Linked DNA regions of Homo sapiens: regions 2, 3, 4 and 5 are each linked to region 1. The links are contacts of gene promoters, found by promoter capture Hi-C in blood cells and fetal thymus (Javierre and others, 2016). All regions are on one chromosome and are shown on one strand. The core of a region is centred on a gene start or on the middle of the fragment in contact, and the rest is flanking DNA. Distances in the headings are between cores, read along the strand shown.

Evidence for each region. Contacts are between HindIII fragments. The CHiCAGO score rates a contact against its expected background, and 5 or more counts as called.
Region 2: a fragment that was not itself captured here is called in contact with the fragment with the promoter of FAM184B in region 1 in 1 of 17 cell types (naive B cells); the score reaches 5.7 in naive B cells.
Region 3: a fragment that was not itself captured here is called in contact with the fragment with the promoter of FAM184B in region 1 in 8 of 17 cell types (total B cells, endothelial precursors, naive CD8 T cells and 5 more); the score reaches 12.5 in total B cells.
Region 4: a fragment that was not itself captured here is called in contact with the fragment with the promoter of FAM184B in region 1 in 2 of 17 cell types (endothelial precursors and total B cells); the score reaches 7.1 in endothelial precursors.
Region 5: a contact is called between a fragment that was not itself captured here and the fragment with the promoter of FAM184B in region 1, in 1 of 17 cell types (M0 macrophages). The highest score is 5.7, in M0 macrophages.

Annotation. Positions count from the first base shown.
Region 1 is chr4:17,780,275-17,782,915 of GRCh38, forward strand. It overlaps FAM184B (family with sequence similarity 184 member B), which reads right to left and starts at 1,347. Exons shown (of 18, transcript NM_015688.2): 1 at 885-1,347. The coding sequence starts at 1,025. The HindIII fragment of the contact is 8,098 bases long and covers 1-2,329 here.
Region 2 is chr4:18,615,434-18,618,074 of GRCh38, forward strand. The region is part of intron 1 of LOC105374510 (a long non-coding RNA gene); the gene reads left to right. Among named protein-coding and RNA genes, the nearest start is that of LCORL, 590 kb to the left of the region's middle. The HindIII fragment of the contact is 1,904 bases long and covers 347-2,250 here.
Region 3 is chr4:18,591,776-18,594,416 of GRCh38, forward strand. The region is part of intron 1 of LOC105374510 (a long non-coding RNA gene); the gene reads left to right. Among named protein-coding and RNA genes, the nearest start is that of LCORL, 570 kb to the left of the region's middle. The HindIII fragment of the contact is 4,680 bases long and covers 1-2,641 here.
Region 4 is chr4:18,567,183-18,569,823 of GRCh38, forward strand. The region is part of intron 1 of LOC105374510 (a long non-coding RNA gene); the gene reads left to right. Among named protein-coding and RNA genes, the nearest start is that of LCORL, 550 kb to the left of the region's middle. The HindIII fragment of the contact is 2,072 bases long and covers 309-2,380 here.
Region 5 is chr4:18,361,019-18,363,659 of GRCh38, forward strand. No RefSeq gene overlaps it. Among named protein-coding and RNA genes, the nearest start is that of LCORL, 340 kb to the left of the region's middle. The HindIII fragment of the contact is 3,222 bases long and covers 1-2,641 here.

The DNA of each region.
Region 1 (2,641 bases), core at 97-2,596:
GACCTGACCTCTCCCTGGCGGGCATGGCACCAGGAGTTTATTATGAGACCGAAAGGAAACCCCAAGGCAAACAGCTAAATTCATCCACTTGAAACCTTGTATAGGAGACAGTGAGGGATGTTGTTTTCCATCTAGACAAGGCACAGAGGGGAGTCTGTGACAAGGAGCTTCTAATTGGGGAGCTGCAGAGGGTTAACAAAGAGCACTGGTGGCATCTTTTTGCTGGTCTTCTTGAAAAAGACATAGTCTGGGAAGGTTCAATCAGAGCCCCCTGCACGAGGTAAGGAGGTGGGCTGGCTGACTTCCCTAGGTCCTTCCTAATCCCATAGTTATTTGGTGAATCGTGCTCTTCCCCATTTATGCTCCTACACACGTCTGCACCCAGTTTGATAGTAAGTCCCCTAGGCTGCATTCCAGGTTTAGTACGGTGCCACGCAAGCTGCTGGCACTCAACAAATGACGCAAATATTTGTTGAATGAAGGAATAAATGGATCAAGTGTTTAAATAGAGCCCACATGACCTCCCCAGCTGTAAAGTATGGCAGTTGAATGAAATCACAACATTCTAGGCACTTGAGCAAAGCTGGCGGGGACACACACACACACACGATTCACATTCCCACCTTGGAAAAGCACAGACCACCTGCCCAGCCAGCAGGCTGTGGGAGTTTCCTTGGCAAGGATCCTCTTTCTCTGCTGCTTTAGGATGGTGCCTCTAGAAGGTCAAGTCACCCAGATTTAGGACCGCTTCCCTTCCCGGTTGGCCTCCGAGACAAAGTTTCTGTCTGGATTTGGCCCGGGCCTCCCGGGAGGCGCATCCGCACTGACTCCCGGCTCGGGCGCCCCGGGCGTGCAGCTCGCTGGCCCGCTGCGCCCCACCTTACCTTGGTGAGCTGGGCGATCTTCTTGCACATTTTCACGTGCATCTGGGGATCACAGTCCATTCTCCAGCCGGCGCCACCGTCGGCTTTGGAGCCCTGGCAAGTGCCGGGCGGGTTAATTTTGCTGTTGAGAGCAGAAGCCATCGCTAAAACGCGCCCAGCACTCAGACTCTCTCGTTTTCTCCCTGCCCACCGTGTGCACGTGCGTGCGCGCGCGGGCGTGCGAGCGTGTGGGTTTCTCGGGAGAGGTGGCACTGCAGTCCCGTCGCCTGCACCGCCGCGTGGCCCCAGCTTCCCGAAGGTCTCCGCCTCCCGGGCCCACCCGCGCGCCCACCCTTTTTCCTCTCCTGCTGGTTCTCTGGCTGGCTGGCTCCGCGGGCACCCGCACCCTGCGGCGAGGCGTCGGCGCCCCGCACGTGCCGCTGGCGATCAGTCTGCAGTTCCCCAGCCAGTGCAGGTTTCGTGTGCAAGGGGAGAGCTTCCGCGGCTAGGAGCTGCCGGCCTTGGGGGGTTTGCGGTGGGCGGGCACTGCGCTCTTGGACACGTGGGTGGCGCGCGGCCCTGGACTTGGTGGCGACGGACCCTGCCCGAGGTGGGGATCCCAGGCTAAAGAGGAAGAAGAGCCTCCGGAGAGGGACAGGGCACAGTGACTGGCGGCCTCCGGAGAGGGACAGGGCACAGTGACTGGCGGCTCCCGAGTCTCCGAGCTGATAGCGGAGATGGCGGTGGGGGACGAGATGCTAAGAGAGGGGCGGGTAGGTGAGGGCGAGCCATCGGGACTCAAGGAGGTGTGGGATCCGGGGCGCACGGTGTGGGCCAGCGCCTGAGTTGCGCGAGTGCACAGCGGGGCTGGGGATGGTAGCCTTCCTTTTTGGATCTTGGAGAGGAGCCAGGACATTGCGGGAGGAATACCGGAGATGCCCAAAGAGGAGAAGCCAAGGGGATGGCAGGGTGCGGGTGACCGAAATCTGAGATGAGAAAGTGCGAAACGGGTAATGCGGGAAGCGGTAGGAACGCAAAGACAAAGTCGTTAGGGAGGTAGAAAGGATGGTGGCAGGTGCGGGAAAGGAAGAAGCAAAGAGGAATGGAGCAGTTAGATGAGTAAAAGATGGAACTGAAAATCTTAGCAAACCGAGCCCATTGAAAGTAAAGTGAGTCGTCCAAATCCACACTACTGGCCTTGGGCAGACTGGAGCCAGACTGTCAAGTTTTCGGATTCTGAGCTGGTGTCTGTTTAGTGTTTGGTGAGGGGAGAGGTTAGCGGGCCAAATTTCTTTCTGGCGTGTTCTCTGGTTTCAGACAGTGGACTTTAAGGGAAAGTGACAGCACCGTGATCAGCTTTTCCTAAAGCTCGAATAATAGGTCTTCATGATAGTTTGCATAGTGAATGTATATCATTTATACATTGCCTTTTATCAGAAATTTTAATAATCTTCATAAACCAAGCAAGCTTCAAAGGGTCTCAGAAACCACAGTTCCACCCATCCATACTGAAGGTAACAAAACCCATTTTTGTCGATGAGGAAAATTGACCCAGAAAATTTGTACCAAGTCAGGCAATTACAAGTAGAACTGTTTCTGAAATAGACATTCCTATTCTAGATTCTGTATCAAATGACCGGCCTCGGTTTTTGATTTCTAATTTACCATCTTAAGTTCTCTTTTTAGCACAACCCCTCCCTCCCCCAGTTCCTTTAGAAAACAGAGACAAAGCCTCTGAGGATGGGGGTCAGGGGGTCAGGAATCCACATTAAACAGCT
Region 2 (2,641 bases), core at 49-2,548, 840 kb after region 1:
CAAAAGGTAAATTCAACTGGGTATGAGACATTTGCTTTTGTCATTCCCATGACCTCCTATTCCGCACCATATCTATTCACCCTTCTCTAAATGTTCCACATATTCTGAATACATTGCTATCTTATCATTGGACGTAAATGACTGGTCTACAGTAACTCAGCACATTTCTGAGGTTTCCATGTAAAATAGTTTCTCAGAAATAGTGTTCTTAACAGGTCCAAGTTTCAGATCGCTATAACACTTATTCACACACATATTTATTTTACATTATTTGCATTATCTATATATACATAGATATGTACACAGAGGGAGAGAAAGGAAGGGAGGGATGGAGAGAGAGAGAGAAAGCTTTTAATGTAGGCTTATAATTTAGTTATCTACCTAGGTGTAGATATTAATTTGTAAATCAAGTACATGTACTACTATCATTGGCAAATATACATGCAGGGCAAGGATCATTTTTAATGACCACAGATATCAAAGTATTCTTAATAATGTCATTAATTGGATATCTGACTTTACATTTGATTTTATGAGCTTATTGTTTATTTTACTAATAGTAGGAATAGGAGGAAGAAAATCAACTTTGACTTTTTTCTTATTCGTGTTCACATTTTGCGCTTGCATTTGCAGTATTTTCTTCAATCAATGATGTCTTTGAAGGAAATTTTTTTCAATTTATTTGTTCACTTGGTGAAGATTAGAGTTGCAGACATCATTGTTCTTTTCTGATATCTGGTTCCCCTCTACTTCTAGGTATGTTTGAGGATTTCTGTGTTACTTTGGGGTTAGGTGTTGTTATATGAGTATTTCCAGCTTATGATATTGGGCAAACGTGACATGTTGCCTCTGGGCCAGAGCATTTAAATGTTGGTGTTAAACCTCTTCTCTTTTTTCTGTTGTTGTGAGCAGTGACTTTCCAAAGTGGAAAGCATAACTAGAAGCTGCAATAATTACTTTCTATTATCCAAAAGCTGATCTTTCCAGGGTCTTAGAACCACCATGTAATCTTCACAGAACAGATCTAATAAGTAGTATAGGGTTATGAACATGACTGGATTTCCTATGGAAAACAGTAGAAGCAACCACATTCTGTGATCTGCTTCACGTGGGCCAAATCCCATAGATGAGTGGTCACAATCAGCAAAGTTAAAGATACTTAAATTTACTTATTGATTGGTTTATTTATTCCTACTTTATAGTAAGCTAAATCAAAGAATCAGGACCTCTACAGTGACTCTGCAGTTTAATAAACAAGCTATGCTATTCTACAGTTAGAAAGATCATAAAATCTTTGCACTTTAATAAGTTCATAAACCATAACATTAAAAGGGGCCAGGCACGATGGCTCATGCCTGTAATCTCAGCACTTTGTAAGGCAGAGGCTGGCAGATCACCTGAGGTCAGGAGTTCAAGACGAGCATGGCCAACATGGCAAAGCCCTGTCTCTACTAACAACAAAAATTAGCTGGGCGTGGCGGCACGCTCTTGTAATCCCAGCTACTTGCTGAGGCAGGAGAATCACCTGAAGCCAGGAAGCAGAGCTTGCAGTGAGCCGAAATCATGCCATTGCACTCCAGCCTGGGCAACAAGAACAAAACTCTGTTTCAAAAAAAAAAAAACAAAACAAAACAAACAAACAAAACTAAAAAGATATAAATTATTCCAGGGAATATTCACAAATCAGTGTTAAAACATAGATGTGGCCTCTTCCAATTTTGGAAGAGAAAATTTGTCTTGGGAAGCATATGCCAAATGAAAGGGCTTGTTTCAGTGAATTTAAAGAAACCTTTGAGTTTCAGTTTAAGTGTGTTGACCTTTAGCTTAAGACAATTTATTGTAGGAAATTGATTTTCACAGGTCCCTCAACAGGTCCCAAATGGCAGACTTCAGTGCCTTGATTTTGAGACAAGAATAGCATCATATACTGGTAATGTGGCCAGTGTCTAAGAAGTGATTTAAAAAACTGTGTTAAAAGGCAATTTTCTAACAGAGTCAATGTAACATTTACAGATAAATATTCAAATAGCTTGTTATAATCATCCATCTATCATTTACATACAGTGCATTAAATGAGAATGTATTTTGTCTACTAAATGTTAGGAGCTGGTTTGCAAAGACAAACAGGACATTGTTCTGGAAGGGCTCATAAACTGGTGGAGGAGAACAGAAAATCTATCCATTATAGAAGTCGGAAGAATGAAGTATGGCAACAGAAATAGCTTTGGGAGGTGGAGAGGGATATGGAGAAGCTTTTCTAGAGGGGACGACTGCTGCTCTGGGAATGGTTGGCCAGAAACATCAAAGGGGAGTGCATTCCAAGATGATGTATTAAACATGAAAACACCTGAGAGAACATGGGTCATTCAGACATTTACAGAAGCTTTGCTTCATTTACTACATATTCATTGTATTCATTAATTCAACACATATGTGTGGATACTATATGTCAGGTACTATGTTACAAATTTAGATTATAACTCTGAATGAGAGAGACATAGTCCCTACCCCAAAAGAGTTAACAATCTAGTAGAAGAGATTTATTTTTTGAAAAAAATTCCCCATATTGTGATAAAGAGCTAGAAAGATTAGGTAGACACCACTCTAGTGATATGAAAAGAGGAGAACTTAACCTGGATTA
Region 3 (2,641 bases), core at 99-2,598, 810 kb after region 1:
TTCCTGTGATTAGTTGACAACTGAGGAAAGGACCCAGGCCTGGTTCACAATGGACTGGCATGATGTTGGTGCTAGCTGAAAATGCACTATTGTTCTATTATAGCACCATTAAAGGACAATGATGAAATAGAATACTTTGGCTGGGCAGAGTTTTAAACACCTGGTCATGAGCTTGGTGTGGTGGGAGATGTTGCCTGCTAAGATGCAGGCATATGCACACATACACACACCCGTGCACACACTTCTGGGCAGTGGCAAATGGTTTGGGTGGAATAATGAAAGGATCACGAATGGAAAATCAGGGACAAGTTGCTAGTGGAAACAAGTGTGTAGATGAACCTATGACCATGAGCCTAGAGCATGTGGATCATTTATCTTAGGTAAATGCCTGCCAGAGAGCACCTCCTGTGAAGGAGGATTTGAACACCCAGGGGAAAGATGATTTCCCTTCTAATCTCAGCTGGGCTCTGTCCCTGGCCCCCTAAGTGCTCCTTGCTGCAGCCTTAAGGTGATCGGCAGTGCGGTTATGTGATAGTTTTCAAAACCATAAAAACAGTATTTCTTTTTATTGTATTAGTTTCTTTCTGGTCCAACCACTCTTTAACCATATTTAGTCTGTTGGTGTGGTGCTATGATGTCATTTTTAAATTAAAAGAAAACTAACCATACATTTTCTTAGTTAAGATCATACAGAGAGGAAATAAACCGTTAGGATCTGTCAAATTAATTACAATACATCCTTGCTATGGAATCTATGTTAAAAAGAGAGAGAGAGAGAAGAAAAAACGGGCTAGGTGCAGTGGTTCATGCCTGTAATCCCAGCACTTTCGGAAGCCAAGGTGGGTGGATTGCCACAGCTCAGGAGTTTGAGACTAGCCTGGGCAACATTGTGAAGCCCTGTCTCTACTAAAAATACAAAAAATTAGCGGGGTATGGTGGCACACACTTGAAATCCCAGCTGTCTGAGAGTCTGAGGCATGAGAATTTGCTTGAGCTCCTTGAGCCTGGAAGGCAGAGGTTGCAGTGAGCCGAGATCATGCCGCCGCACTGCAGCCTGGGCGATAGAATGAGACTCAGTCAAAAAAAAAAAAAAAAAAAAAAGCCTGCATGATTTTTTGTTTCTTTCTTGAAACTTCTCTACTTAAAAATTTAAAAATACATTTGAATAATAAAAAAATAATTTTTAATGGGAGAGAAATTATTTTGAATGTAAAATGAGTGTGATGGGGAGGAAAATTGTGGGTTTATGCATTAGATTGTTCAGATTCTGTGTATTTACTGTCTTTGGGAGCTGAAGTTAGTTTATTTTTTTTTTTACTTTACTTTCTTCCTGTGTAAAATGAAAATAATGACACCTATTATACACAATTACTTTAAGATTAAATGAGATAGTCCCTTTGGTGCACCTGATATATATAATCAAGATGAAATATTTTGAATGCATAGATTGGCAAGCAGGCTGCACTGTGGATTTATTGCTAGACAAATACAACTTGTGTCAATTTGAAGAAGTCACCAATAAAAATGAAAAATGCCAAACCAAATATTTCTTTGCTCCTTGTTGGAAAGTCACATAAAGAGACAAGATAATAAAACTTAAACTCAGGGACACGTTTTAAGTCCATGATTTGCCTGAAATTGTAGTTGTTAGTTGTGTTTTGCTTTCCTTCTTGTATGAAAGCACCTTTCTCTAAGTCCCTAGTGATATTTGTGCCAAACAAAATAATTGGCTCATTAGGCTGCTGTAGTATTGCCTCTCACTCGGCACCCATATCCTTCTAGTAAGCTGGAAAGAAGAAACAGAGCTCTCTATTCAGAGACCACACAGCTTGCTATCTTTTTTTGCACATCTCGAAGTCAAAGAGGACACAAAAGGATGTTTTTCTGAGCCAATTGGCAGCGCACTCTTATTCTGAACTGCTGGGGCTGGAAGTCTTTCAATGCATGGTAATACTGCCACCATGTGGTCAAACTGAGAAAACCTCGCCCAAATCCTTCAGTCGAAGAGGATTTTCCTTAACATTAATGGGACAGAAGCATTGCGCTTCTTCGACTGGGATTGTTTCACGATAGTCACAAACTATCGTGATTGTTTAGGTAAACGGTTGTCTCACATAAAGGGGCTGAGTGTACTTGATTGGGTGCTAACTGCTAATCCTCCCATTAGCGTGACTGTAACTTTAAATCATTGGTACTTTGAAGTTTCTGTTCTAGGAAATAAGGATGAGAATCTCCATGCTTCCCTATTTCATAAGGTAAGGGAGATACAGTAATATATGCATCGCAACTCTAGATGTAATGGTGTCATAAAATTTCGGGGAGAAAAGTGGGATTTGCTAACCAAAGTGCTGCTATTTGAATGCTGCCACTTTTTAGGGGTATGATCTGAAACAAGTTTTTTCATTTCCTTGGTCCATAGTTTATTGTTCTGAAGAAATGCTGTGAATATTACCTTTTTTTTTTTCTTTTGAGATGGAGTCTCGCTCTGTCGCCAAGCAGGAGTGCAGTGGTGCGATCTCGGCTCCCTGCAACCTCCACCTCCTGGGTTCAAGCCATTCTCCTGCCTCAGCCTCCCGAACAGCTGGGACTACAGGCACACGCCACCACGCCCAGCTAATTTTTGTATTTTTAGTAGAGACGG
Region 4 (2,641 bases), core at 95-2,594, 790 kb after region 1:
CTATGACCAAGAGTACTAAGGTATGTGGACACTGGAGAGGGGGTAAGACAGAGTAGAATTTATGGAGCCAAAGAAAAGCCCTTGACAGTGAGAAGGGACCCAAAAGTGGATAGCCATCTATGAGGCTGAGTCTGGGATTTTTATGGGCTTAGAATGGAGAATTTATGGGTAGGCTTGGAAAAGGCATCATTTGATTGGTTAAAAGGCATCATTCAGAAAGAACCAATCAAACGAGAGCGGACAAAACAGGGATGAAAGTTCTCACTGTAGTTCGTGGATTCTATCTGTAACTGGTAGCTCTGTTTTCAAGCTTTAGACTATCCTTGGCCTGAAGGTCAACTTTCACTAGGGATCCATCCCTATCTGCCTAGGAATCTGTCTGTCTGCCGTTGTTATCACTATTACCCCACTTAGTCACTGTTGGAAAAATGTAGTAGATAAACATGCTCTGTGCCTTACTGGCTGCAATCCAATCCTGACTTGGACACTGAAAGTGTGTGTGACCTTTAGTAGTATACTTAACTCCTTCATACCTCAGTTTTGTGTAAAATAAAAATTATACTGGTAGCTCTCAGTAGACAGTGGCAAGGGAGTAACGACATTTTCTATCTTGCTCTTTGCCATAACCTCAGCTCATAGACTACCTGCACAGAGCAGGAACTCAGTAAATATGTATTGAATGAGTAAATAAATATCTGCTAGAATTATCCTAACGACTAAATGAGTTAACAAATATATAAAAGAGTTATGAATATATAAAGTGTTTGGGAAAATTCCTGGTATAATTAGGTCTATTCATGTTATTTTGGCTTTATTTCCATTTTATCATTAGTGTTGTTATTATTATCAAATGCCAATTCCCCCATGAAGCCTTCACTGATTACCTTAGCAGGACATGGTCTCTTTTTCCTCTGGACATGCAAAGGTATTTGACAGCTTCTTTCTTGAGCTGTACTTTTTTCACATTGTTTATCTTCTCCTAAAAATTTTGTGAGAACAGGCATTGCCATTCATCTTTTGGCAATGATGAAAAGTTAGCAGGCTGCTACTCTGCCAACTCAGTTTTCAAGTTTTGCTTAATTGTATTCCTATGCTTTTGTACTAGTATTTTTGTTGTTATCGTTGTTTGCTTTCTTAAGTCAGCCATACAAAATCAGTAGAAAGAAAAATATCAAGTCAGATCTATGGTGTCATGGGGTTTTCAGGGAAGACATTAAACACTGGCCCCAAACATTCTCCCTTCTTCTCAGACACTGCTTTCCTCCTTCAGGTAACCACTTAGTGGTGTCTGATGAAGGAATAGGGGATGGATGGAAAATAGAATATGTTGACTTTCCTTGACTGTAATGACACAGCATGGATGTTGTAGTCTTTCCTGAAAGCAGAGACTGGATAAAGGGAGGATGAAAAAGTGGCTTCTTAAGTAACAGCTTTCTGTAAATAGAGTTTTAGAGCCACATACAGAATTTTCAGATGGTAGAGGATGCAAAAAGACTCAAGACAGGTAAAGTCTCTGTGAGAGTTGTTCACATATGGGAGAGAGCTCATTGCCTTAGGATCAGATTGGGGTAAGGCATTCAGAACGTACTTTTTAGTACATGCCACTTGAAAATGAATATCTTAGTAAGCAATTCCTAGAGGAATGGTTCCACCAAGTGGTAGGTTGTTGTGGTGGAAAATGAAATAAAGCCTGTGTTTTGAAACCAAGCAGACTGCAGTTCTAAACCACGCTCTGCTGAATCACCTTGGAAAGGTTACCTGTACTTTCTAAGACTGCATCATCTTTTGTAGGAAGAAAATTGTGGATGTGGTTGTAGACGTTATTAGTTTGCCATGTTCTTTTGAGCACAGAAGACCAGAATTCTCAGCCCCTTTAGAGTTTGTCCAGGCCATTTTAATGATTTCAGACAAAGGGCTATGAGCAGAAGTGACACAGATCGTTTCCAGCCTAAGGCAGTAAAAAGTCATTGCCAAATTCTTCAATCTCTCTTCCCTATTGGCAGCCTGAAGGAGGGCTTGTTTGGAGACGGCGAAGTCACAAGATGAAAGTATCCTGAGCACTAAATACTGCATGGAGGATAGTTGCCTCTGAAAGTTACCTGATTATAACAAATACAGTTAAACCACATGGTTTAGTGTATGGCATATTGTAGGCACTAAGAGTTAGCTCTCCTCCTTTGGGAGTTTCAGGCACAGAGAGTAATGATAGTGAGATGGTTTGGAGTAAAAGAAACGTAGCATTTGAGTCCCTTTGAGTGCATGTAGGTGTCTAGTTATGCCATCTGTATGAAAAGCCACCCATATCTGGCACTGTTTGTTTTATTCGGCATCATGACTCCTATCTGCCTGAAAGTATGTGATAAAAAATGGTACTCAGTAAAGCTTTGCTGAATAAAAGCGGGATGAGAATCTGAAGTTAATTACAGAGTACTCCAAATAAAATGCTGGTATTAGGTGGGATTAGTTAGTTGAAATCACCAGACTAGCTAATGATAATAATTCCTTATATTTGCATAGTGCTTTAAAGCTAGTGGCTTGATTTCAGAGATGTCATTTACATTCTCTTATTTAATGAGAGATATTACACTGACTATGATCTATCAAAGCCTTTACTCTTCTGAAACAGGACAGGTTGGACTTC
Region 5 (2,641 bases), core at 65-2,564, 580 kb after region 1:
ATTGTTAGACCGGGGTTGTGTGTTTTGAGGAAGAATACCACAGTGGTAAAGGGACATTTTTATCATGTCGTATCAAGAGTACTTACTATAAATGTGACTATTTTTGATGTTAACTTTTATCACCTGGTTGAGTATTTTTTGTTAGGTTTCTTCATTGTAAAGTAACTTTTCTTCCTTCTGTTTTTCATATTGTGTTCTTTGAAAATATATCAACACATGGAGCCTACACTGAAGGAATGGGGAACTGTTTTGTTTCCTGAAGGAGAGAGTATCTACATAAATTATTCAGAATTCCACATGGGAGATTTTGTCTTCTCCAAATCTATTTAGTCATTCAAAAATTTATTTGTATTTGTATTGATTCATCAATATTTAATTAATTAATTAATTAATTTTCTTGAGATGGAGTCTCACTCTGTCACCCAGGCTGGAGTGCAATGGCGCGATCTTGGCTCACTGCAACCTCTGTCTCCTGGGTTCAAGCGATTCTTCTGCCTCCGCCTCCTGAGTAGCTGGGATTACAGGTGCGCACCACCATACCCAGCTAATTTTTTTATTTTTAGTAGAGACGGGGTTTCACGCTGTTGGTCAGTCTGGTCTCGAACTCCTGACTTCATGATCTGCCCACCTCGGCCTCCCAAAGCGGTGGGATTACAGGTATGAGCCACTGCGTCTGGCCTATCAATATTTATTTTATACTTTGAGCTATATCTTAGTTTGCTTTGTACTGCTATTATAGAATGCCCAAGACTGGGTAATTTATGATTAACAGAAATTTATTGACTCACAATTCTGGAGGCTGGGAAGTCCAATATCAAGGTGCTAGCATCTGGTGAGGGCCTTCTCACTGTGTCATCACATGGTAGAACAGCAAGAGAGGGCAAGAGAGAGGGGGAAAAAGGGATGCAAACACCCTTTCATAACAACATCAATCCTATCCACGAGGGTGGTGCCCTCATTGGTTAATCGCCTTTTAAAGATCCCATTTTTTAATACTGTTACAATGGCAACAAAATTTCATCATGACTTTTGGAAATGACAAACATTGAAGCCATAGCAGATTTCATCTATTACTTAATTTATTTTGTTATACAAACTTTTCCAGTTTTGGCCATTAGGAACTCTTTCAAGTGACTTTTGTGCCCTTTTGACATATTCTCATAATTAACTAATTAAAATTTGAGCATTTCCTTACTTTCTGGCACTACAGGATGCTCCAGTCTCATTTTCTGTATTTCCTTTCCCAGTCCTAGAATCAGGCATTTCTACAAAAAGAAGTGCTGAAGAATGATACTAACCCCAAGATCTAGGTACTAGGCTTGTTCATTGCTACTGGGGTGTTGTCACTTTAGGCCCTATCAGCTGACAGACTAAGGATATATTCATACATAAGAACCAGTCTATACTCTTATATCTATAAATATTTCTATGTGGAACTATTTGTGTTAAGCTAAACAGAGTTGTTACCGATGTCTCCAGCCCTAAAATGTAAGCACACAGATTACTCTAGACTGTCTCTTGCTAATTTGTAACCTCTAACTCCAACAGTATGAAGTGGCTCCCACTATCTTCCATCCATCTACCTAATTGTTTAATTTCTGTTTACATTTATAATTGTATAAGAATTGTAAGTCAATACCTCTGTGGTAAACAACTTTATTCATTAGACTACAATACCTAGATATAATTTCTTTTGCCTTTGCTCTTACAGACTTCACACATTTCTAAAGTTGTTTAGATTACCACCTTTATTCTTTCATGTCCTTCAGCGAAGTTGTTTTGTACACTTGTAGTACTGTCATAATGTTTTCCTAAATTCCAGATTCCATTCTTGGATTCCAAAATATTTAGTTAAAAATTACAATTATTGATGTTCACTGTGTTTTGAAATTCAATGGATTTTTGACACAAGAGTATAATGTATCCGTCATCACAGTGTCATTCAGAATAGTTCCACTGCCCTAAAAAAGATCCCATCTTTCATGCTTCACCTACACAACCCTTACCTTTCCCATCTTCTCTCTGAAATCTGACCTTTTTACCACCTCTATAGCTTTGCTTTTTCCAGCATGTCATAGAATTGGAATCATACAGTATGTAGTCTTTCCCCATTGGCTTTTTTTTTTACTTAGCATTATACATATAAGGTTCATCCTTGTCTTCTTGTGACTTGAAAGCTCATTTCTTTCTATCACTGAATAATATTCCATTGTATGGGTCTACCATAGTTTGTTTATTTATTCACCTTTAAAAGACATCTTGTGCAAATTTTTGTGCAGACATAGTCTTTCAACTTATTTGGGTAAATATTTAGAAGCATGATTGCTGGATGGATGGTGATATGGTTTGGCTGTGTCCCTACCCAAATCTCATCTTGAACTGTGGCTCCTACGATTCCCACGTGTCATGGGAGGGACCCAGTGGGAGGTAATTGAATCATGGTGGCAGGTCTTTCCTGTGCTGTTCTCATGATAGCGAATAAGTCTCATGAAATCTGATGGTTTTATAAAGGGGAGCTTCCCGGCACAAGTTCTCTTCTCTTGTCTGCCACCATATGAGATTTGCCCTTCACATGATTGTGAGGTCTCCCCAGCCATGTGGAACTGTGAGTCCATTAAACCTCTTTTGTAAATGGCCCGGT